4 separate regions of the Homo sapiens genome follow, and regions 1, 2 and 4 are each linked to region 3. The links are contacts of gene promoters, found by promoter capture Hi-C in blood cells and fetal thymus (Javierre and others, 2016). All regions are on one chromosome and are shown on one strand. Each heading gives the region's core, a stretch centred on a gene start or on the middle of the fragment in contact. The rest is flanking DNA. Distances are from core to core; before and after follow the strand shown.

Region 1 (6,017 bases), core at 2,631-5,130, 170 kb before region 3:
TTCCCCATCCAGACAGAGGCATATAAATTCTTTTTTGTCTCTCCGTGCCAGTGCATCGATGGTTCTCCTAATCTACTCTTTTCAGTGTGGGTGTAGCCTTTTAAAAACTGCTGCAGTTTTTTAACTAAGCCCAGCTGTGGCAGCATCCCACATCCTTACCACTCACTTCTCTCTTTGTTACTGACACACCTGGAGACTTCCTTTCTCTGTTGCCAGTTCATTCATGCATTTAAAATAATTTTTGCTGTATTTTGTCAAGCATTTTAAGGCAGTATGGCAGGAGAGTTTTCAGACTGTTTCCCCACATCTTCTTTTAAGAAAGTTAGGAGTCTCATTCCACCCTTTAAAAAAAGTATGATGTTAATTATTTTCTCTTGGTAAGCCTGATTTAAAAATTGGGGACATCCATAGAAGTGTTAGGAGGAAAATGCAAACTACTCATTGTACCACTACCTAAAAATGGCCATGTTTTAAATGTTTTCTCCTTTTTGTATTATATGTGTTTAGATATACATATATACATGTATATATGTATGCATATGTATACACACATGTATACGTGTATGTAGACATATGTATACATATGTACACATACACGTATACATGTAGACATATGTACACATGCACGTATACATGTAGACATATGTATACATGCACGTATACATGTAGACATGTATACATACATTTATACATGCACACATACATGTACACATACATGCACACATGTACACATACATGTATACGTGTATACATACGCACATACATGCATACACGTATACATGTATACATACGCGCATGCATGCATACACGTATACATGTATACATACGTGCACATACATGTATACACGTATGCATGCATACATACGTGCACATACATGTATACACGCATGCATGTATACATGCGTGCACATACATGTATACACGTATGCATACATACGTGCACATACATGTAGGCACGCATACATGCGTATACATGCATGTATACATGCATGCGTGCGTGTACATACATGTATACATGCACACATACGCATACATGCATGCATACATGTGCATGCATGCATGTATGCATACGCATACATACGCATACATACGCATACATACGTATACATACATGTGCGCATACGCATACATACGTATGCATACGTATACATGTATACATACGCATACATACGTATACATACGCATACATACACGTATACATGTGTATACATATGTATACATACGCATACATACACGTATACATGTGTATACATATGTATACATACGCATACATACACGTATACATGTATACATATGTATATACGTATACATGTATGCGTATACATGTACACGTATACATGCATACATGTATGTATGTATACATGTATGTATTCATACATGTATACATATATACATACACATATGTGTGTATGTATATATGTACTATATAACTTGATTCATGTGTGAATATCTGTTTACATGTGCGATTTTTCACCTAATAGTGTATTGTATTTTTCTTACATCATTAAAATTCATTAAAGAACAAACAACTGAAGAAAAACTTCTGCCTTAGAAGCTTAAGGATAAATGAGGGGCATCTTCTTGCATATATTTGATTAGCTGTTCTGCAAATCTACTCTTCTGCACCTAGCAACCTAGAAATAAAAAAGGGAATAGCTGCACTAAGAGCCCTAGAATCCTAATTAACATTGTGCCGCTGATAGATGCCTTACATTTAAAGCAAGATCATGTTGTTTCTCTCCCATATAAATGATTTTCATTGACTGTTCTGAATAACTTTATATTTCCGGTCTCCAATTTGCTGCAACTAAATCTTAGCTACTCCCCCATTCTGGCTTTCTTGTTGAAAATTGCTCTCTGAGCAAAACCTGGAATGTCTGAAGTCGTTCCCCAACACAGTTGCTAGAGATGGGCTGTGAAATAACAGAATTTAGCAGCAAGTCTCTCCACAGGCCAGTGTATAAAAAGGATCTGAAACCTAGGCTGGGAATGACAAGTATGCTAGAGGGAATGGCACTCCCCTGCCCGCCTTCCAAAAGCAGTTTGGCTTCAGGAGAGTGGGTGTGTGTTTCACTTGGTCTTGCAAATGTAGGTCTAACTTTGTCACCGCCTTTCCGTCTGCCTTCCAGCATCTGTGCCCAGTTGACGTAATGACTGTGGAAGGCAGATTGAACGTTATTAAGGAGACAGCCTGGAAATTGTGAGAGGCAGGCAGGGTCAAGGATAGAAAGCATTTTTGGGAGACTGGGGTTCTCAGCTCACAGTAATTGAGAAATCGATTCAAACTCATGCCATACAATGAAATTATATGTGTGTGTGCATTTCCTAGAAGTTACCCCATGGCCCTTCCCACTTAAGTTAGCACTATACAATGTCTTGGCCAAATGAATTTGAGTTCCAAGTTAGGTTCTTGAGACTTAAATTAGTTCCAAGTTAGTTTCTTAAAATTTGTAGTAGAAATAATAGCCTTAAAATGTAATTTATTAAAAATTAAATTTAGGGCCAGGCACGATGGTTCCTGCCTGTAAGCCTAGCACTTGGGGAGGCTGAGGTGGGAGGATTGCTTTAGCTCAGGAATTTGAGACCAGCCTGGGCAACATAGTGAGACCTTATCTCCACTAAAATAAAAAAATTAGCCAGGCATGTTGGCACACACCTGTAGTCCCAGATACTCAGGAGGCTGAGGCGAGAGGGTCACTTGAGCCCAGGAGTTCAAGGCTGCAGTGAGCCATGATCATGCCACTGTACTCCATCCAGCCTGTGTGACAGAGCAAGACCCCCCTCCAGAAAAAAATTAAAATCTTTAAAAAACAACAGTTTTGATTTACAACTGCCAGAATTTATGAGAAAAATAATTTTAAGTTTCAAAAGTTTAGTGTGCACACTAAAAAAATGAAGGCACAAAGCTTATGTTGCCAACAAGATATTAGAAACAGAAGTATAACTACACAACTCTACTTCCTGTAGATTAAAGATTGCCAAGACTTTATTCATATTTTTATTTTTTAAAAAATTTAAAAACTGAGACGTGGATTCATTTCTAACAGGGACACACAAATGTCTGATGGTGGCCCAGGAGGGCTGTCACTCAGAATCAGGCGGGTGCAGAGTGGCCTGCAGGACATGATGACCCAGCATGAGACAGGATGCATCACATCTGGGTGACGCCTCTCTCCAGGGGATCAGCCTGGACTAAATGCCTCTCCTGGGCCAGGATGCCCAGCAAGCCCCGAGATGCCTCCTGGAGAGAAGGAAGTATGTGAGAGTATCCTGAGTTAAGTGAGATCTAAAATGCCTGAGAAAACCCTGAAATGACTGAGTCTATCTGGAACTTATTTGATTGTTTTTCTGCCATCAGATAGAATGAGGTCTCAAAAGAGAAATTAAATTATATTACAAGAAAATAAAGCTCAATTGCTTGCCTATTTGAGTTTGTGGCCTGTGAAAATCTTGCCCACCAAACTACGAGAAGCAACATGAGGGGCTTTATAATAACTCTGCAGGTAGGTGGACAGCTCATGGAATCCAAGGGGAAAGGCATGGGCTGGGCTGAGAAAGGACTAGAACCAGGAGCTGAAAGCCATTGGGATCTTTTCTTAGCTGCCATGGCTGCTTCTTACTGCATATCTTTCTGTCTTCTCTCTCTGAGGCCCATCTTTCTTTTTTTTTTTTTGAGACGGAGTCTTGCTCTGTCGCCCAGGCTGGAGTGCAGTGGCGCGATCTCGGCTCACTGCAAGCTCCGCCTGCCGGGTTCATGCCATTCTCCTGCCTCAGCCTCCCCAGCAGCTGGGACTACAGGCGCCCGCCGCCACGCCTGGCTAATTTTTTGTATTTTTAGTAGAGACGGGGTTTCACCGTGTTAGCCAGGATGATCTCGATCTCCAGACCTTGTGATCCGCCCGTCTGAGGCCCATCTTTCTCCACGTCTCCCATTCATCTGACAGAATATAGTGGCATCAATGCCTAAGTTACGTGACACAGTTTTAGCCACATGCAGATTCTACCTTTCTGTATCTTGGCCTCATTCCCAAATTCTTGTACAAGAATCTGATTGGCCCACTTAAGTCCCATGTCTGTCTTCCTCCATTCAATCAATGGTGGCCTGAGGGGCATTGGCCCGTGGTACAGACATGACTGCTGTGGGTTCATCACCTCGGGTCAGGGGACAGTTCCCAGGGAATTGGAAATGGCTGTGAGCTGGGAGGGCACCCCAAAAGATGATGACTTCTGAGTCACTACGGGACCTATCCCTCACTTTTCCCATCTAGAAAATAGAAGGAATAATATCTGTAATATTCCTAATTTTAAGTGAAGGCAAAGGGAATTAACATGTATTGACTTCTTTCCATGTAGGAATCTGCATCCTGAAAACAACCCTAAGAGGTGGGCATTTTAATTTCCTCCTTTTTAGATGAGAAAATTGATGCATGCGGAGGTTAAATCTCATAGCTAGTACATGAAAGCTCAGATCTAAACCCAGACAGAACCTGTGCTGCAGCCCCGGAGGCAGCTGTTATTAAGATTGAGATAATGTCTCAAAGCCGTGCATTACATTCTCAGCTATTAAGAAACTGCCGAGGACAGTATCTTATATGTAGTAAATGCTCCGAATTGGAAGTCTCATTAATAAGAGCACTCTCCATTCAATTGCAGCAGAAGTCTTACCATCACAGTGTTTTGCTCACATTAATCCACCAAACACCTCTGGGAAGTGGGCACCCATCTCCTTTGGAGAGGTTTCTGCCAAGACACATTTTATTACAATGAAAAGGGAGATGAAAACAGCCGCTTATACCTGTTTTAACTGTAATTGACCTTCAGCCACCATTTTGCTGCATCAGATTCGAGAGCTTCTAAAGCTTCCACCCTGCTTCATGTTGAGGTGTGAATTTGTCACCTTAGGAGCCTGTTGTCACAGTCTTTAGGATGTATTTATGTGCTCTGATCTTCTGGCCTCCTGACACTAAATATAACTCTTTCTTATTGGTACTCAGCTGATATACACAACTCAGGCTCTTTTTGTGAATGTTTGCTGAATGAGAGATTTGTTAACACCTACTGTATTCTCAGCTCTGAGAATATTAAACCTCTAAGATACAATGCAAGCCTCTGAGAGCAAACAGTCTTCTCTGTGCTATCAAAAAGCTAAGAACTTGGTCATTAGGGAAATGCAAATCAAAGCCACAATGAGATACCTCTTCATACTCAGTAGGATGGCTGTAATACAAATAATTAAAAAAAAAAAAACAAAAAAAAAAACAGAAAATAACATGTTGGCAGGTGTTAAAAGAAAAAACTTTAGACAAATTAAATTTAACAGAGTTTAACTGAGTAAATAACAATTTGAGAATGGGGCAGCCTCTAGAATCAGGGCTGCTACATGGTGGGCTAACATTTAAGGACAAAAAAGGGAAAGTAACGTACAAAAAAGCGGAAGTGAGGTACAGAAACAGCTGGATTGGTTACAGCTCAGCGTTTGCTTTATTTGAATACAATTTAAACAGTTGGCTGCCTGTGATTGGCCAAACTAACACCTGTAAAGGAAAGCAATATGCCTATGATTGGCCAGAACTCTGCGATTGGTGCAAGTGTAGGTTACAACAGTCTGTTTACATATCCAATTAGGTTTCAGTTAAACATTTAGGTTGGACCTAAATATGTAAGGAGGCAGCTTCAGGCTAAACTTAATTTAACACAGTGAAGTGGAGAAATTGGAAAAAACACAACTAAGAACCAATTTTAAAGTCACCAGTCAGGTCTAGTTTGGGTGAAATTAATGCATGTTCACTTGAGAGCATTAGTTGAAACTTCCTGTAATTCAGTTGGCTTGATTGGTGGCCACCTTGCTTTGGTTAAAGATACAAATAAGGGACTTCAAACACCGTAAGTAGGTTTCTGATCTGCTTCTCTGAGCATTAGTACCACAGGTAGAATGATCATGTAACTGATCATCCAAACTGTGACAATTATTTCCAAGACAAATGCTAAAACAAAAAGGACAGTGGGACAGAAGGCCA
Region 2 (5,850 bases), core at 2,388-4,887, 220 kb before region 3:
TTTGAAGATTATGTTTAGATAAATGATTTGGAAGCAAAAATTAAAGTTGTTGGGGATCTGCTAAATTTATTATTACTTTATTATAAAAAATATTGCCACTTAAAAATTGCTTTTTCAGAAATGTTTTTAATCTTTTCTTCTAGACAAACTTGGCCCTACAGTGTTTGCTCCTGTTAAGATGGATCTTGTTGGAAATATTAAGGTGAGCATACTGGTTTGTCTCTGTGGAAACTTTTAAATAAAGGAAAATGTTCTCAACATTTTTGTGCTTGGCCAGAATAAATCAAAAAGTGAAAAATGTGTCACTGTTCTTTTAAGAGAGCAAGCATCTTTCTTCTCACACTGTGAATGCTCAGTAAGGGAATTACTAAGCCTTTATTATATGCTAGAGTTAAGCTTTATGGGGAGTAGAAGATTCATTTTTAAAATGAAACCAGGACTGCCTTTTCATGTGCACCGTGTGGATCAGTAGGGTTTCACTCTAATGTCCACACTGATTCTGTGCTTTTTTAGGTTTAAATGGTGATAAGTTATATTTTTCTAAAAGATAGGTTATATAGTGAAAATAGCTGTCAGTGGTCTGGGACTCAAAAGGCCCATTTCCAGTGGTAGTTGTGGGACCATCAACAACTCACCAAATCTCTGAGCCTCTTTCTTCCAGGTAAAATAAGGGATGGGTCCCCTTTTAAATGCAGATTAAATGTTACCTTCTTGAGGATACAGTGCCCAATAAAAATCTTTTTTGTCATTGGAGACTAGTCTTTGAGGAAGCACTATTAGGAATTCCTGTAGGTATACCTTTCTTTATTGTATTTAGGTGGAACAGTTGCAAGTAGTCTCATTAGAACAAATGATTGTTGAGTTTTATATTCAGAGTGAAAAGTATCTGCCAAAGACAAGCATGAGAGAGGTTCTGAGGCAGAAAAAATAACTTTAAGAACAAAACTTTAAACCCTGAGACTATTTAATTCCAGTTTAAGCTACATAGAATTCTCCAAAACAAATACTATCATGAAAACATAAGGAAGAAGGTAATAGGAGCTTAATTTATTTTCTTAGAGGCCTGCTTGCCAAACTTACAAGTCTCCAGACTATACTGAGTTGCTTGATAACTTCAGCATTTTAAACTTAGGTTGTTTCCCTGCTTTCCCTCCAGAAAGTAAATCAGAAGTATATAACCAACAAAGAAGAGTTTACCACTCTCCAGAAGATAGTGCTGCACGAAGTGGAGGCGGATGTAGCCCAGGTTAGGAACTCAGCGACTGAAGCCCTCTTGTGGCTGAAGAGGTGAGGCAGCTGGGGTGGGACAGCAGTTAAAATCTAGCTCAAAAAAAATTACCAGCAAAAAAAATTGTTACACAAAGGAGACTACTTCTGAGTGAAGGATCTAGTTGAATTGTGTAGCCTTTTCTAGAAGGCCTAATGAATAATACCACCTTATTTTTTTTTTGCCTCTCTTTTGATGGTGATAAATATTGTTGATAAGTATATATAAGATAGGAATCTTAAAGGCATTAAAGTCAACTGGCTTCTCTTTAAATCAGTGGCTCTCCAACTTCAGTGGCATCAGAATCATCTGGAGGACTTGTTAAAAACACTAGACTCGGAAACAGTTTCTGATTCAGTAACTCGGGTGGGGCCCCAGAATTTGCATTTCTAGCAAATTCCCAGGTGATGCTAAAGCCACTAGTCCTGGGACACATTTTGAAAACCACTTCTTTAGGTATATCAGATGAGATGAAAGATGGGCTCCAGAGCAAGCTAAAGGGAAGTGAAGGGAAGAGGTTCAGGAAGGACTGCCATATGATTTGACCTATTCACTGCTGTGCCTAAGATGTTACTGAAATGGAAGCTGATGTCTGCCATTTCTTTATACCCACTCAACATAAGTGAACTTTGAAAATAATATTTCTTCCTTTATTTTGTTTTAGAGGTCTCAAATTTTTGAAGGGATTTTTGACAGAAGTGAAAAATGGGGAGAAGGATATCCAGACAGCCCTAAGTAAGTGTTCTTTATGTTTTGTTGAATGAGTCAATAGACTGTGGAATGGAGACCCCTAGAGGAGGATACAGGGTATAGGGGATATTTCTGCTTTTCAGAATTTGATTTTGTTTCTTTTCTTATTTCATTATTATTCATTGCTTCTTATATGCTTTGTTTAAAAGTACCTATGAGACAATGACCTGGTAATCTAGATGTAACTTACTAAAAATCAGTATATTTTAAAGACGTGCTGAATAAGTGGAAAGCCATCTCTTAAACATAATAGGAAGACCTAATATTATCAAGAAGTTAGTTTTCCTAAATCTTCAAATATATTATAGTCTTTGAAAATCAGTATACAAAGAAAAGCTTGAACACCATAACAGCGGGTTGGCGTGGGGGAATCCCAGGGATTTGTTCTGGAGTAAGAGTAAAGGTTTTCGTCGTCGTCGTGTAACTCCTCAAATATATAATGCTGTGTGCGTCCCAGTTTCTAGTCATAAAGCCAAAATGGGATGAAGGGCTTGGTCAGAGGAGATCATCTTATATCTCCAGCACCTTAAAGTAGTGACTGCAACATTGTAGGTGCTTAATAAACATTGGACAGGTAGGTAGATGGATGGATGTGTGGATAGAGCCATTTATCAGACCAGTTTTGGAAAATGTTGAGATTGGGGAGCATCCTTAGAGTGCTTCTAATGGAGTGGCTGAACTCTCACCATTGATCTATAGGAAATTCTTCTAGCATGGGCCATGAGGCGTGTGTGGAGAAAAAAATGAACTGTGACATAAACTAATTAGATGCTTCTGGTTTGAGAGGGAGCTAGTGTTCTCTGTGGCTTTTTTTCAGTGTCACAGTTGGGTTCTACCTCCTTCTGTTAGTCCTCTCTCTGGGCCATGAGTCCTCAAGAATTCTGCCCCCACGTGATTTCCCGAGTCTGCCCCATCTAGCAACTGCTGATCTGCCATAAAAATGAGAGCTGACATTTCTATAGCACTTTGTGAACAATGTAGACTTCATAAACTTAATCCTCATTTCAATCCATTTTTACAGGTTAGGGAACTGTAAGATTAAAATATTGCTTAAGACCAGCATAAGGTCTGAAGCAGAGTGGCTTTGAGGCCCCTGCTTTGAAGGTCCACATTTCTCCTACAAAGGGTCTTTTCCACCATTCCTGGGCCACCTGCATTTTTACATTCCCCATACATCCCTGAATTTCAGGATGGTCTCAGTTATATTCTCCCCTCTGTGTCCTGATTTCAAGTACTAAAAGTATATTCAGCATGTCTACTCATGCCCCCTAGCCAGTATCTGTCAAGCTTTATGGCTTGTGGAGTGTAGGATCAGGAGCTCTGGAGTGGCTCTCTGGATTCTGCCACTTATTAGTGCTCTGCCCTTAGGCAAGTTATTTAACCTCTCTGATCCTCACTTTGTTCATCTATAAAATGGGAATGGTGATATTATTTCCCTAACAAGGTGGTTGTAAATATTAAGTAGGTGCATGTGCATGTGAAAAAATTACAGAAGTATTTGGTACGCAAAACACTCAGTGTGGCCGGGTGTGGTGGCTCATGCCTGTACTTTCGGAGACTGAGGCAGGAGGATCACTTGAGTTCAGGAGTTTGAGACCAGCCTATGCAACACGGCAAAACTCCATCTCTACAAAAATTAGCTGAGTATGGTGTTGCGTGCCTGTAGTCCCAGCTACTTAGGGGGCTGAGGTGGGAAGATTGCTTGAACCCAGGAGGTCAAGGCTGCAGTGAATTGTGATCATGGCACTGTACTCCAGTCTGGGCAATCGAGTGAGACCAGACCCTGTCTCAAAAACAAACAAACAAACAAAAAAACAATGCTCAGTCGTCAAGATTAGCATCTATTGTTGTGATAATGATGTTTTGTCATCATTATCATAATCATGATATATGAAGTTAATAACCTGCCAGAAAATAAGACTTATTTGTCCCACATCAGTAATGGAAAGTTTACAAAGCTTAGGTGCCAAGCCAGAAACTTCACTTCAAACTAACTTATTAGTATGGAATTTTCATGCTAGCAGAAAGACTTCTCCACCTGTTGGAAATGCAGAAGATACAGGGTTTAGCACTGTGTGCCCAGTGGACTCCGCTTGTCTCATGCTGCTATTACTTTGTTAGGGCTGTCTATGGAAGGGGAGTAGGACAATGCTGATCCCATTTAGCCCACTGGAAGAGCTGGGGTGGAACGGAACCCAGCTGCTTATGGGCTTTGACCCCCCTAGACATAGAAAGGAAACAGGATATACCATTTCTATCCAGTCCCAACCCCAATTCTGCCCACTTTTCTCTCTCCTTTTCTCCTCAAGGTTTCTCATCAAATGTTGTACTTGATTTGGAGACTGGGCCCAGGGGATGTATTGACTTTGTGAAGAAAGAGGAGACTTTGAAGGGCAAATGCTGCTTTGTGACTGCAATAATCACAGCCAGTCTCAGCTTTTTCTTCCCTCTCTTCTCCTTCGGCACAATTTTCAATGGAAAAGAGAAGGGAGGCTGTAAATTTGACATTTTTGTCCTGATGTTCAGGCTTATTTCAAAGAAGGTGTTTATGATTTAAATCCTATCTTTGTGGAAATCCCTAGTTTCTTGCTGCTGCTTAGTATGAGGAGATAAAGTTCCCCTATTAAACCCACCCTCCCTCCAAAGTTCCCCTGTTAAACCCACCCTCCCCTCCCACAGACACAGACACAACAAGCTCTGCGTAAACGGTTTTTTGAGAAATGTTTACACAATAGTTACTCAGAACCTGTAGGCTCCTTGATGCATATTTCTTCTGGGATAATGGTTCCTTTTTCTCATTTTGAAGTCCCAGCCTTCATAAGTAGAACTGATACCTTGTTTGAAATGAGGGAGGGTGAGTGAGTAGGTAAAAGAGAGTGTGTGCAATTTATATGCCATATATAGGCAAGTTTGTTGGCTTTTTTAAATTCTAAAGTTGAATTTAAAAACAGCTATCACTTACAGAGCACCCAGTGTAACTACTACACTAAGTTTTTGATAAATATTTTATTTAATCTTCCAAATACTCTCCAGTGAATAAACTGAGGTTTAAAGAGGATAAATACCTTCCCTAGGGTCTCAAAATCTCCATCGGTGGTTCTCAAGCTGTTCCAAGGTCAGCAGCATCTTTATCACCTGAAAACTCATTAGAAATGCAGACTATCCGGTTCCACCCCAGACCTGCTGAATCAGACACTGAGGCTGGGGCCTGGCAGTCCGTGTTTTAACAAGTCTTTCAGATGATTCTAATCCATGCTGAAGTTTGAGACCTAGTCATCTAGACTTAGGCCTTTGAGGTTCACCTGTCACTTGTCTACATCTTGATAATTTTGTGATTTTGACTGCATCTAAGAGATTTTTAATAAGCAGGAGTAAAACTGCTGAAATTAGTTATAGCATCAGTTTATTTTCCTCCTTTTCATCATAATTAGACAGCTTTCCAATAAAAATACTGCTTAAGTAAGGTTTGAGGTGAATGTTCATGAAACTTGTATGGTCTTAATGGCCTTGGAAATAGTACATTTATATGTAGAAGTCCTAAATAACATTGTAGAAGCCTTGTCTCCTTTACCTTTCTGGAAAATGCATCTCTAGTTATTGTATTGCTGCAGTTCTGTGACCTGGAATACTTCCAGCATCTGGAAGGAGCCTTAGACTTTACACTGCCCCTTTTTGCACTTGAGCCATCACTTGGCTTCCCCATAATGATAATCAGAGTGGAACATTTTGGGTGGTTTCATGCTAAGAGCTGCTGTGTTCCCTTAGTGTCCTAACATTCTTTAGAGGTCATTTTCAGGAGGGAGTTGGGTTCACAAGGCAGATATGTTTAATAA
Region 3 (5,898 bases), core at 924-3,423:
GTCTCTACTAAAAGTACGAAAAAATGAGCTGGGCATGGTGGCACGTGCCTGTAACCCAGCTACTCTGGAGGCTGAGGCAGGAGAATTGCTTGAACCTGGGAGGCAGAGGTTGCAGTGAGCCCAGATCGCACCACTGCACTCCAGCCTGGTGACAGAGCGAGACTCTGTCTCAAATAAATAAATAAATAAATAAGCGACACATTTTCAACGAAGTCAGAACTGTTTGGTTGACAATAACACACATTGACAGCTTCATGCTGGTGACTGGAGAGAGATGAGAGGGGTGAGGAGAGAGGAAAGAAGGCCAAGGAAAGAACATAGAAGGCCAGCATTTTATCTCCAGAACCTTCGTGGGGAAAGAAACAAGGCTCACCAGAGAGGAGGTGGAAGGGGCACCCACCACAAGCGAAATGTCAAGGAGAATAAGAACATGATAAGTTAATGAGTGACATTCAAGAAAGAATCGTTTTAGTACAACTGGTGAGGATACATGTATTCACTCACTCATTCATTCATTCATTCACAAAACATTTATTGCACCATGGCAAGACCAGACACTGTGTTAAACACTGGAGGTACAGACATGAAGTTTATCATGGAGCCAATTGAGTAGTGACAAGCAAGATATCTAATAATAATAATAACATGATCAGAGCTATGAAGGAGGTATTGTACAGCACTGAGTGGGAACACTGAAGTCAGTCTGTGATGCTGGGATGGGGGAGGAGGTGGCAGGAAACATCTATAAGGAGAGGGCACTTAACCAAAATGATGACCATATCTTAACATGATACTGCATATAAAGCACTGGGTACCTTTGTTTTTCCATGTATATATGTGTGTTTGTGTACACAGATACACGTCTTTATATGTATACATATATTCTCCATTTGTTTAAAAACTTGATTCCCATACCCTAAGAGTGATGAAAATCATTACATAAATGACTTATTGCAAATAGTGAAAAGATGACAAAGTATTTCTGTAGTTTTATAAAACACCACTTGCTATTATTATTTTCAAGTAGAGACTAGACATTTTCATAATGGGAGTCTCAGAGCAGGCTGTTCCCTGGGTATCCAGACCCTGCTCTGCCGTGAAGAGACCACACCAACACTGAGGAAGGCACTGAGGAGAATTTTATTACATTTTAGAGAAGTTATAGGATTTTAAAGAGGCAGGTGCCCTAGGATTTAACACAAACAGTTCAGGTAAGAAACCTAAAGTCGGCCTGGTGCGGTACGTCACGCCTGTAATCCCAGCACTTTGGAAGGCCGAGGCAGGTGGATCACTTGAGGACAGGAGTTCAAGACTAGCCTGGCCAACATGGTGAAAGACCGTCTCTACTAAAAATACAAAAATTAGCCAGGCGTGGTGGCACGTGCCTGTAATCCCAGCTACTCTGGAGGATGAGGCAGGAGAATCGCTCGAACTCGGGAGGCGGAGGTTGCAGTGAGCCGAGATCACACCATTGCACTCCAGCCTGGGTGACTGAGCGAGACTCCGTCTCAAAAACAAAAACAAAAATAAACCTAAAGTCCAAAAAAGTAAAATAATTTGCTCACTACAGATAATTTAGTTTGGTGTTGGGCCTAGATTCTAGGTTTTGTGAGTCAGGTGCAGCGTTCCTGGCACCACAGTATTTGCCCTACCACAGAGGGTCAACCTGGATTATCCCGAGTTCTTCCAACTCTGCGCTTCCTCCCAGGTTGGTGTTTCATGAGTAAGTCTGAGATCAAGCTGGCTTTTGAGCTTCTGTTTTTTTTTTTAATCAGTGTGTAACACCAACACCCACCGAAACCAAACGGCTCTGGGCAGAGGACACAGCCATTCACGCCCCCTGCCAGGAAAAGCTGCAGCTGACACAGGCTCCTACAGCGTCGGCGGGCCACGTGCGGGAGGAGGGGCCGCCTTCTGGTTGGCGCCCGGTGTCCGTTCCTCCTATCGGCGTAGGCCCCGCGAGGAAGACAAGGGCGCGCCCTGGCTGGGAGGGCGTGGCCAGAGACCTGTCCATCACCGAGTCCACGAGTGGCAGCACCTACCACACCGCAGTACCTTGGCGAGGCGGAGCAGGGGCAGGCAGGTCGCGGAAGGGGGAGGCGGAGCAAGGCCGGCGGGAGCCAATCGGCCTGGCGGCACGAGGGGGCGGGGGCGGGGTCAACGCGCGCGACCCAAACACACGGGCCGGGCGCACCCTGCAGCCGCGCCGCTCCGCGGCCTTCCGGCGCGGGGCCGGGGAACCTCCTCCCCATCTGCGCACCCCCCGCCTTCGCGGCCCAGATCCTCCCGCCAGCCCGGCCCCTCCTTCGCAGGGGGAGCGAGGCGACGGTTGCCGGGAAGCGCGCGCCACCTCTCCCTCCCATTTTTCGTTCTCCCCTCGCGCGCCACCCGTTTTTCCTCTTTCTCCGTTAATAACAGCTGGGTGGCTGGGGGAGGAGGGAAGGTGGCCCCGGCGGAGTCTGGGCGGGCGCCTCCCACTCAGCCGCCAGCCGCCGTGGGAGCCGGAGGATGGCGGCGGTAGCAGCGGCCGCCCGAGAGGAGGCGGTGCCGAGATCGGGGGCGCCGAGCGCGGCAGCAGAGAGCGGTAGCGGCCCGTCGTGGCGCACCAGAACCGAAACCAGCGGCAGCCGCACGGCCACTTGAGCCGCCCCTTCCTGCTGGAGCCAGCGAGGGGTGCCTGCAGCCGGGACCCCTTCCTCTCCGCGTCTCCTCGTCTCCCGCGCCCGCGTCAGGCCGTCGGCCTCGCCCGCCGCCCCAAGAAGAGCGCGCCGGGCGCCGACTGCCCCTCTGGACGCCGGGCGGCGGCCCTGGACGTGCGGGGGCCTCTCTGGGCCGGCCGCGGCGCCTGGGCCCTGCCCTCTAGCTCCCGCGCTCGCTCCCGCCCTCCCGGCTCTCGGGGCGCAGCGCGCGGGCCCGGCCCGGGGCAGGGCGGACATGGGCGCCAAACAGAGCGGCCCGGCCGCCGCTAACGGCCGCACGCGCGCGTACTCGGGCTCGGATCTACCTTCCAGTAGCAGCGGAGGCGCCAATGGGACCGCGGGCGGCGGCGGGGGCGCTCGGGCCGCCGCCGCGGGGAGGTTCCCGGCTCAGGTGCCCAGCGCGCACCAGCCCAGCGCCTCCGGCGGCGCCGCGGCGGCCGCGGCGGCCCCGGCAGCCCCGGCGGCCCCGCGCAGCCGCTCCCTCGGCGGGGCCGTGGGGAGCGTGGCGTCGGGGGCCCGCGCGGCGCAGTCCCCCTTCAGCATCCCGAACAGCAGCAGCGGCCCGTACGGCTCGCAGGACTCGGTGCACAGCAGCCCTGAGGACGGCGGCGGCGGCCGGGACCGGCCGGTGGGCGGGAGCCCCGGCGGGCCGCGCCTGGTGATCGGCTCCTTACCAGCTCACCTCTCGCCGCACATGTTTGGAGGTACGGACCCCTCTCCGCGCACCCGCGCTCGGTCCTCCCGCGGCTGCACGTGGGCCGTGGCCGCCGGCTATTTTTACCCTTCTCCTTTTCTCCTTCTGCCGGGGCGCCGGGGGCTGCCTCCCGGACCAGCCCGCGTCGGTCTCCATCCTGGAAGAAACCCGGCGCTTAACACCGGCGGTGCCGCTACCGCATAGACGCGTGGTTTTGTTTTTAAACATCCTGAGCACCCTCACCTCAGCGGCTGCCCAGTAGAGAAAGTCTATTTTCCAGTGAGATGACTGGAGCAAATGTTGTTTTACAACAAACCGACGAAACAGCCCTTGTGGTTGTGGTTTTTAGTACCAGGAAGTCAGGAGGAGACCAGTTGCTAAATGTAGTTCTATCTGGGGACTCGAGTGGGGAACAGTTTTTAAAGGCCAAAAGTCAAAGCGTCTCAAATGAACACTGAGTTACCATGTTTGGACCGACTTTTAGTATAAAGCTGTAATCCTGAAATCTGTGTCAGTAGTCCCAGTTACTATGTCATTTTAATTGGATGAATGCGTTAATGAAAAGTTTGTTTTTAAACCTCACTAAACTGCTACTTAAGATCACAGTTAATGTGAGTCCTGCTTAATTTGGAAAGCATTTAAAAAATGGAAAAGTTTCTTAAGGAAGTAAAAATTTTGCACATCTGTCTTCAAGGTACAATAATTGGCTAGGTTCTTTTGAAGAGCAGTGTTGACTAGAGTTAAGGAAAAGTCAGTTGTGAAAAATGGACATTTTTAATAGCAAAGTGATGTACTTTACTACAGAAACAGGAGGAAGTGTGCGTTGTCCTGGGGAAAATGAATCCTACTTCTTCAGTTATGTTTTATGCTGATCTACTTTATTGCAAAACGCTAATAGTAAATGAATCAAGACCACCTCCCCTCTCCCCTTTATGAAAATAAATAGAAGTATAGAAGATAAGCATTCCCATTTCATCGCATTATGTATCTGGTATTAGAAAAATTAGCAACTGAGCACAGATGAGCAGCGAAAACACGATCCCCTACATTTTTGTGCCGCTTTTACTTATATATTTGTAAACGTAGGAACTTTGGAGACTTAGTAAAGTGGAATACGTAGTAATTTATCCGTTCTCATGTTCTGTACTATCAGCACACACGCCAGCATAAATTAAAAACAGGAATGTCATGTTTCATTTTTCCCATTTTTTTAGTAACGCTTTGCAAATTCAATTGGAACGACGCTTGACTTTTAATTAGCTACCTTGTTTTAAAGTAATTTTTGCTTCTTAAAAATATTCATCCCTCTTAAAATTGGGCTATTTTTAAAAGTCATTTGCTTTTGATTTTGAGTAAAAGAACTCTACTGGTGTCCTTAAAGTGATTTGATCACAACTAACCTAACAGTTGAAGTTGCTGTAGTCCGCACTGAAGAATATAAAAGGCAGTTTCTGAGAATTGGTGATTAGTGCGAGAATGAAGGGCAAACTGGTTTTTAATGTTTATCATTATCTTTTTAAAGTGAAAATTTGCATTTAGCAATTATTAGAAGATGAATATTTAAGTTTGCTAAAGAAGGGTGAATAGGAAAAGCCTTGTCAAGTTAATAGTTAATATTTATTTAATATGCTGATTTCTAAAAATTCATTTTCTAAGAGCTGATAATTCCCTTTGAGAAACATTATAGTTCTGTGGGTTTATTTTGTTAAGTAAATGCATTCTATTCAGAGCAAGAGACAGTTGAGCCCCATGCTATTCCTAGTAAGTAAAAATACCTAGTTGCTTAAAGTTGGAGATAAAGCATTTATCTTTTTTCTTATCTAAGTTCTAGATTTGTGCACTCATTATAGTTCTTTTAGTGCTGTTGGGGTTGGGTGACTGGGGCCTAGTAGTACAGTGACACTTTCTGAGGAACTTACAGCAGCCTTTCTCACCCGGCTTTCTGGAGACAATTGTGCCGTAGTGTGCAATGAATTTTAACTTTTAGCTCCAGTGCATTTAGAACGGTTTTAGTTATGTATCATTCTTGGAACAATTGAGAAAAGTCACTGAAATAATTTCCTGTGTTTGGTGATTCAGATGAGGAACCTCAGTTGAGAATTGCTGGAAAGACATCAGAGAAATTACCTGTTCTTATTATATGACAGGATCAGATGAAAGTGCCACATCCTGAAATCTCTGTTGAGGCAGGGAGATGGAATACATTTACGTAAAAACCCATCTTAGTGGCATTGCCTTACTGAGATTTTTACCTATATTTTAGTGGACGGGTTATTAGGAAAACAATAGAAGCATGTTTCTCATCATCTTGAGATTTAGGGAGCTAAATGAAGAATCTTATAATTAAAAAAGACTTGACTAGTTCACATTTACTTAACTTTTTAGTATCTATTATAACATTATTGTGTTTATTCAGTTACAAATTGTATAAATGGTTATATACAAATAACTGCATCTGAAAATTGATAAAAGGATTATTTCAGAATTAGTGGAAAGTTCGTATTG
Region 4 (5,605 bases), core at 706-3,205, 230 kb after region 3:
CCATAACCTATGATTAGCAAGATATTAATCAGCAGTAACTGTTGCAGCAAAAGCTGGTTACAAACAATCCATGGAAACAGGACGTGAAGCTAGACAACCGGTTAGACCAGAAATTCTCAGAAGGGAGTATGCCTTAACCCTAAAGAGGCCTAGAAGAGCCATGGCAAGATGAGGGTGTTTGTAGCCCTATCTTATCCATATGAACAGGTGCCCCTCATGCATCTGCTTATAGGCTCTCCACAAGCGTTGCATTCCATTCCCAGAGCTCTGAACATCTGCTTTTCTGGGATAGGAATCTTGGTGATGTGAAACCTCCCTGACTGCACGTCTGTTCATAGGCTCTCTGCAGGGGGAAGCACATCACGCGCTGTTGGCTCATTCTGGCAGCCCAACCTGGCATTGTCTTTACACAATCCTGCATGCAACTTTGTATTTACAATAACCAGGAGCATTTCATCTTTTATTCTGTAGCAGTAGTTTCAGGGGGTCTCCCTACAGAAGATAATACCTCCTCCCACCCCTCAAACATCTAGGCAGAACTTGAAATACATACTTGGTCATTTCAGGGAGCAAGTTGCTTTTCCTGGCAAATCATATTCTATTACACCATAAATTCTCAAGGGTCCTATTTTAGAGCACTGCAATTTAAAATGTCTTGCTTTTCAACTGCTCTTAAGAATCTAAAATGTGCTTATTATTTAATTATTGTTACAGATATTTAATTTCTCTTCCTATACTTCTTGCTAATTACTTAATTTCATGACAATTGATTTTTCTCAAGACTATTTTGCAAAAATATTCATAAGTTTAGCATTGATATTACCCTCAACGCTGAAAATCTTTCCTTACTCCAAGCACTTATTTATTTAGCTTCCCCACATAGATGGCAGTGTACTGACCCAGGTTGGCCAGCAAGGGGCAGTAGGTAACAAAGTTACCTACACAAAGTTGTGTTTTTGTGTTTGTTTTTTCAAATTTAACCAAAGCCAGGTTAATATTAGTTAACATTCATTGAGCACTTCTGAAATGCCAGGCACTGGCCTAAATTCTTAAATGTATTAGCTCATTTAATCCTGAAAATAGTCATATATGGAAAGTACTGATATTATTCTCCTTTTACAGTGAGGAAACAGGCATAGTAGGTCAACTAACTTGCCCCAGGTTGTAGTTAGCAATGACTGAAGCAGAGATTCAGCCATGCAGTCTGACTCTAAGTCACTACTGGGTGCTGCTTCTCAAATTTCTAACAATTGTAAAACCTTGGTGCTCTAGATATATCTAGTTATTAATAGCCCACTTTCAAGTACAATCATTATCTACAAGATTATTAAATAATGATTATAGCCTTCAATCACTTGATAATAAAGACAATGAGATCAGATTTCTTCTTAATGTCATCTTTTATTTTTATTTTTTGAAGCAAGGCCTTGCTCTGTCTCCCAGGCTGGAGTGGTGCAATCATGGCTCACTGCAGCGTCGACCTTGCAGGCTCAAGTGATCTTCCCACTTCAGTTTCTTGAATAGCTGGGACTACAGTTGCAACACATCTGGCTAATTTTTGTATTTTTTGTAGAGATGGGGTTTTGCCATATTGCCCATGGCTGGTCTTGATCTCCTGGGCTCAAGCGATCCCCTCACCTCAGCTTCCCAAAGTGCTGAGACTACAGACTTGAGTCATTGTGCTGGGCCCTAAATACCATCTTTTAATCCAGTGGTCTTTAAAGTTTTTTGATTGTGCCATTAAAAATTTTTGAACACACACAATTATATGTTAATATTAATATATGATTATAATAGTATATAATTATATGTATATTAATATATAAAATACATTCTATAATACCCACAAAATAGAAATTTTAAAATAAAAAAGCTATTTTATCTGTCATTAATTGTGGTAGTTTCAATCAATCATTGGCCAATCTCAAGGGAAATACACATATAGGTCAAAGTTAATTATAAGTTATAGTAGATGGAAATTTTATTGCTAATAGCCCTCCTAGGTGGAGAGCTAAATTCTTATATGTATCATTTTGGCTGACCTTGTCAGATGTTACTAGATCACCATTATTTTTACAACACAATGAATGTGATGAGGAGCTTGTACCAGAAGTATGAGAAATGTCGGCTCTGTCCCTTTCTTTTTTTCTTTTCTTCTGCTTACAATTTTGACAAGAGTTCCTGTCCAATTCTTTGCAGAAATCTTTTAAATTATGTTCCCATTTTGTGAGAGTTAATTCTCTATAAATCTGTTTAGCTAAGCCCAGATAAATGACAGTAAATACCAAGATAAGGAAAGCGACTGACTGAGAGCCAGAGCCACCATCAGCCTCTTCCCCAGGGGAGGCACTCCCATTCCTCCTCAGGACACCTTTTATGTGACAGATGATGACTGCCTGGCTAACTGAGGGTTCTACTGTTTTAGTAAAGCAAAATTCTTATATTAGTGTATATTTACTAAATATAGCAAAGTATAGGAAACAAAATTCTTTCTAATATTTTAGATTAAAAATTAAAATAGAATTTGTTTTCACATCTCAGCAGATCAACTTGCTCATCCACTTTCAATAGCATTGTAATCAGTTTTAGCATTTATCATTTTCAGAAGAGCATTTCAAGGAAAGACATTGGTACATCATAGCAAGTCTGAAGAGTTATATGGTACAAAGGCTGTGTGTCTGCTGAGGAAGGCCAGCTGTCTGTGCAGGCAATGCCATTCAGGGGCAGTAGAACTCTAGTGGTATAGACAGAGACTGGGTCTCATGAGTCTGTGTCTTAGCTCTGTGGGCTGAGAAACACAATCTTGTCAGTACTACCAGAGGGGGCAGATTCACACTAAGCAGACTCATAAGAGATGGATGTACACATCAGAATGTCAGTTTGTTGACATGCAATGAGAACTGTAACAGATAAACCATGTATTTGTGTTCACAGATCAATGCATTTTCTTCCACTAGGAAAATAAATCTAAATGAGGCATGAGTTTATTAGCATGACTGAGGTCAGGAGGTCAAGTGATTAGAGTGGAAGGAACAAAAGCAGGAGCAGTAGGAGATGAGGTAGAGAGACAGGCAGGGGCTGGGTCACGTGGGCCCTTGAGGCCATGTTAAGGAATCTAGATTCTAAGAGGTCACAAGCTATTGGGGGTGGTTTAGGTAGGAATATAATCTGATTTTCAAAGGGATAATTCTGCATGCTGAGTGGAGAATCAATTCTAAGGGGATAGAAATGATAGTTAAGAAATTAGAAAAGACAGGGCCAGGTGCGGTGGCTCACGCCTGTAATCCCAGCACTTTGGGAGACTGAGGTGGGTGGATTACGAGGTCAGAAGATGGAGACCATTCTGGCTAACACAGTGAAACCCCATCTCTACTAAAAATACAAAAAAATTAGCTGGGCATGGTGGCGGGCGCCTGTACTCCCAGCTACTCGGGAGGCTGAGGCAGGAGAATGGCGTGAACCCGGGAGGCAGAGCTTGCAGTGAGCCGAGATCGCGCCACTGCACTCCAGCCTGGGTGACAGAGTGAGACTCCGCTTAAAAAAAAGAAAAAGAAAAAGAAAAGAAAAGAAATAAGCAAAGACAGTCCTGCAGAGGTTTAGACAAGGGTGGATGGTGGCTTTGGACTAGGGAGTGAAGCTGGGAAAAGGATGGATTTGGGTTGCTTTTTTTTTATGGTAGAGCAATTAAGACTTGCTGGGAGATTAGATAGGTGATTCCACGCTTACCAAACAACCTTCCAGCTGTAATTTGTCTTCTTAGTAGGTTTTTCTTCTTAGAGAAGGAAGCACTCGTCAGGGAACATAGGGATCTGATATTTCTACTGGTTCCAGTTTTCTTCCCTGAGAATGTGTACCTGAGTCTAAGAGGGTTGGGTCTCTCTCTCTCCGAGCACCTACACATTTGAAACACTCTGAGCTGGTCCCAGCCACGTTAGACATGTGGGCTGAGAAGTGGAGGAAGATGATCTGAGCTACAGAGAAGGAGAAAGCAGACCACAGCTCAAGCAGAGAAGGGAGCTAGAGAAAAGTGCTGGGCACATTTGAGTGCTCACTCCAGCTGTCAAGACCCAGTGGAATTTCTCACTGTAGGTTTCACAGACACTTTCCTAAGTCTTATACTCCAAACCACACTGGGAATGAAATAAAGATTCTTATTCAATGTATCTATTAATGGTTTACGTGGAAAGCAGTGTATCTAATTCCACAATAATATTTTAGAGTGTATCTTAAAGACATCTGGCTCCAAAAGTAAAGTATTTGGTTGTGCCTGCATTAAGGTAAATATATATATATATATATATATATTTGTATTTATATATTTGTATATATTTATATAGATATATATATTCGTGATCTAGAATACAGAGTAATCATCATTAATTATATATGGTCCCAGGTTATACAGGCAGTATGAAATAAATATCAACCTCCAATAGCCACAAGGATGTGGGATGAGTAGTTATTGAGAAAGATTTGTATTTGTTGCCTAAAACCGAAAATAAGTTACCTTTGACTCACCTCTCTCCTTCACACCCTATCTGCCATCAGTCATTAAGGTCTGTGGCTACTCCCTGTGTCCCACCCTCCTCCTCATCCCCACATGCTCACCCTCTCCCTCCCATCCTCATCTCACTCCTGGATTACTGCATCAATTCCTAGGGTGGTTTTTCTGACTGCTTTTCTATGGAGATAGGGTTGCAGGGGAGGACAAGAAGAGGGCGGGAATTACATAAGGACATCACAGAGGTGGCTTTGGAAAATGGCTTCAATTTCAACAGAGCAAGGGGTTAATATTAGGAAATGGGAGACAGTCTGGAAGGAGATTAATATTGTTTCTGGCAGGGCCTTGAGTTTCACACCAAAAAGTTCAGATTATTTGGTGGCCAAAGAAGAGTCATTTTTGGCTTTTGAGCAGAGACGTTCCCTTGTGTACGATTAGAAAATCAAACATGTGGCCTGTGTTCAGGATGGCTTGGGAGGAAGTAGTGGGAGAGATGGCAGAGTGCTGAATACAAGGTCACTGCAAATAGGCAAAGTCATGAAAGCCTAAGCCAGGGTAGCATTCATGGAATGGAAATGAAAGGCCGGAAGGGAGTTAAGATACATTGTTTAAATTTGATTTTATCATCTCATTTCTATCTATAAAAACCTGTAGAGGCTGTCTTTTGTTCATTACCTTATCAGATTCAGGCTCTTATGCAAGCCTTCATTATCTGAGTCTTTCCTGTCTGATTAGTCGGATTTCTCAGTAGATGGTAAGCCCTTTGGAGGCAGGTATCACACCTTCTATTTATGCATACTGCAGTGCTTACCACAGCACAGATGAATGATACTTATTTGCTAATTAGGTGCACTGGAGTCAAAAACCTCCCCTGCTTCATACAGGCACCCATATCCTTTTTCTCTATGGTCTTTTCCCCTGGCTTTCCTTGATTTACTGAGAGAAACTTGTTCTTTAGCTCTGACTTAAGATGTAGACATTTATACTAATGCTTTAGCATATTCTGAGCAAATTTTGTTAGACATAGTGTTATTTATATTTATATCTCTTTCAGCTTATGGTTTGCCACATGGCAGGAAACATGCCAGAATATATGAAATCAGA

The links. The method cuts DNA at HindIII sites, captures the fragments that hold promoters and counts their contacts. A CHiCAGO score of 5 or more calls a contact.
Region 1: a fragment that was not itself captured here is called in contact with the fragment with the promoter of ZNRF2 in region 3 in 2 of 17 cell types (neutrophils and total B cells); the score reaches 8.0 in neutrophils.
Region 2: a contact is called between a fragment that was not itself captured here and the fragment with the promoter of ZNRF2 in region 3, in 1 of 17 cell types (naive CD8 T cells). The highest score is 5.9, in naive CD8 T cells.
Region 4: a contact is called between a fragment that was not itself captured here and the fragment with the promoter of ZNRF2 in region 3, in 1 of 17 cell types (naive CD8 T cells). The highest score is 5.5, in naive CD8 T cells.

What each region holds. Positions count from the first base shown.
Region 1 is chr7:30,114,923-30,120,939 of GRCh38, forward strand. It overlaps a transcript of PLEKHA8 not described here. Among named protein-coding and RNA genes, the nearest start is that of MTURN, 17 kb to the right of the region's middle. The HindIII fragment of the contact is 1,953 bases long and covers 2,905-4,857 here.
Region 2 is chr7:30,060,741-30,066,590 of GRCh38, forward strand. PLEKHA8 (pleckstrin homology domain containing A8) reads left to right here. Exons shown (of 14, transcript NM_001197026.2): 10 at 144-202; 11 at 1,157-1,287; 12 at 1,932-2,002. Among named protein-coding and RNA genes, the nearest start is that of PLEKHA8, 35 kb to the left of the region's middle. The HindIII fragment of the contact is 671 bases long and covers 3,303-3,973 here.
Region 3 is chr7:30,282,424-30,288,321 of GRCh38, forward strand. ZNRF2 (zinc and ring finger 2) reads left to right here and starts at 2,174. Exons shown (of 5, transcript NM_147128.4): 1 at 2,174-3,403. The coding sequence starts at 2,935. LOC124901607 (a long non-coding RNA gene) reads left to right here. Exons shown (of 3, transcript XR_007060274.1): 3 at 1,776-1,831. It overlaps LOC105375218 (a long non-coding RNA gene), which reads right to left and starts at 3,662. Exons shown (of 4, transcript NR_136267.1): 1 at 3,637-3,662. RefSeq lists silencers at 2,020-2,449, 2,460-2,509, 2,590-2,979, 3,060-3,139, 3,290-3,419. The HindIII fragment of the contact is 18,269 bases long and covers 1-5,898 here.
Region 4 is chr7:30,509,398-30,515,002 of GRCh38, forward strand. No RefSeq gene overlaps it. Among named protein-coding and RNA genes, the nearest start is that of GGCT, 7.4 kb to the left of the region's middle. RefSeq lists an enhancer at 2,751-3,252. The HindIII fragment of the contact is 7,857 bases long and covers 1-5,605 here.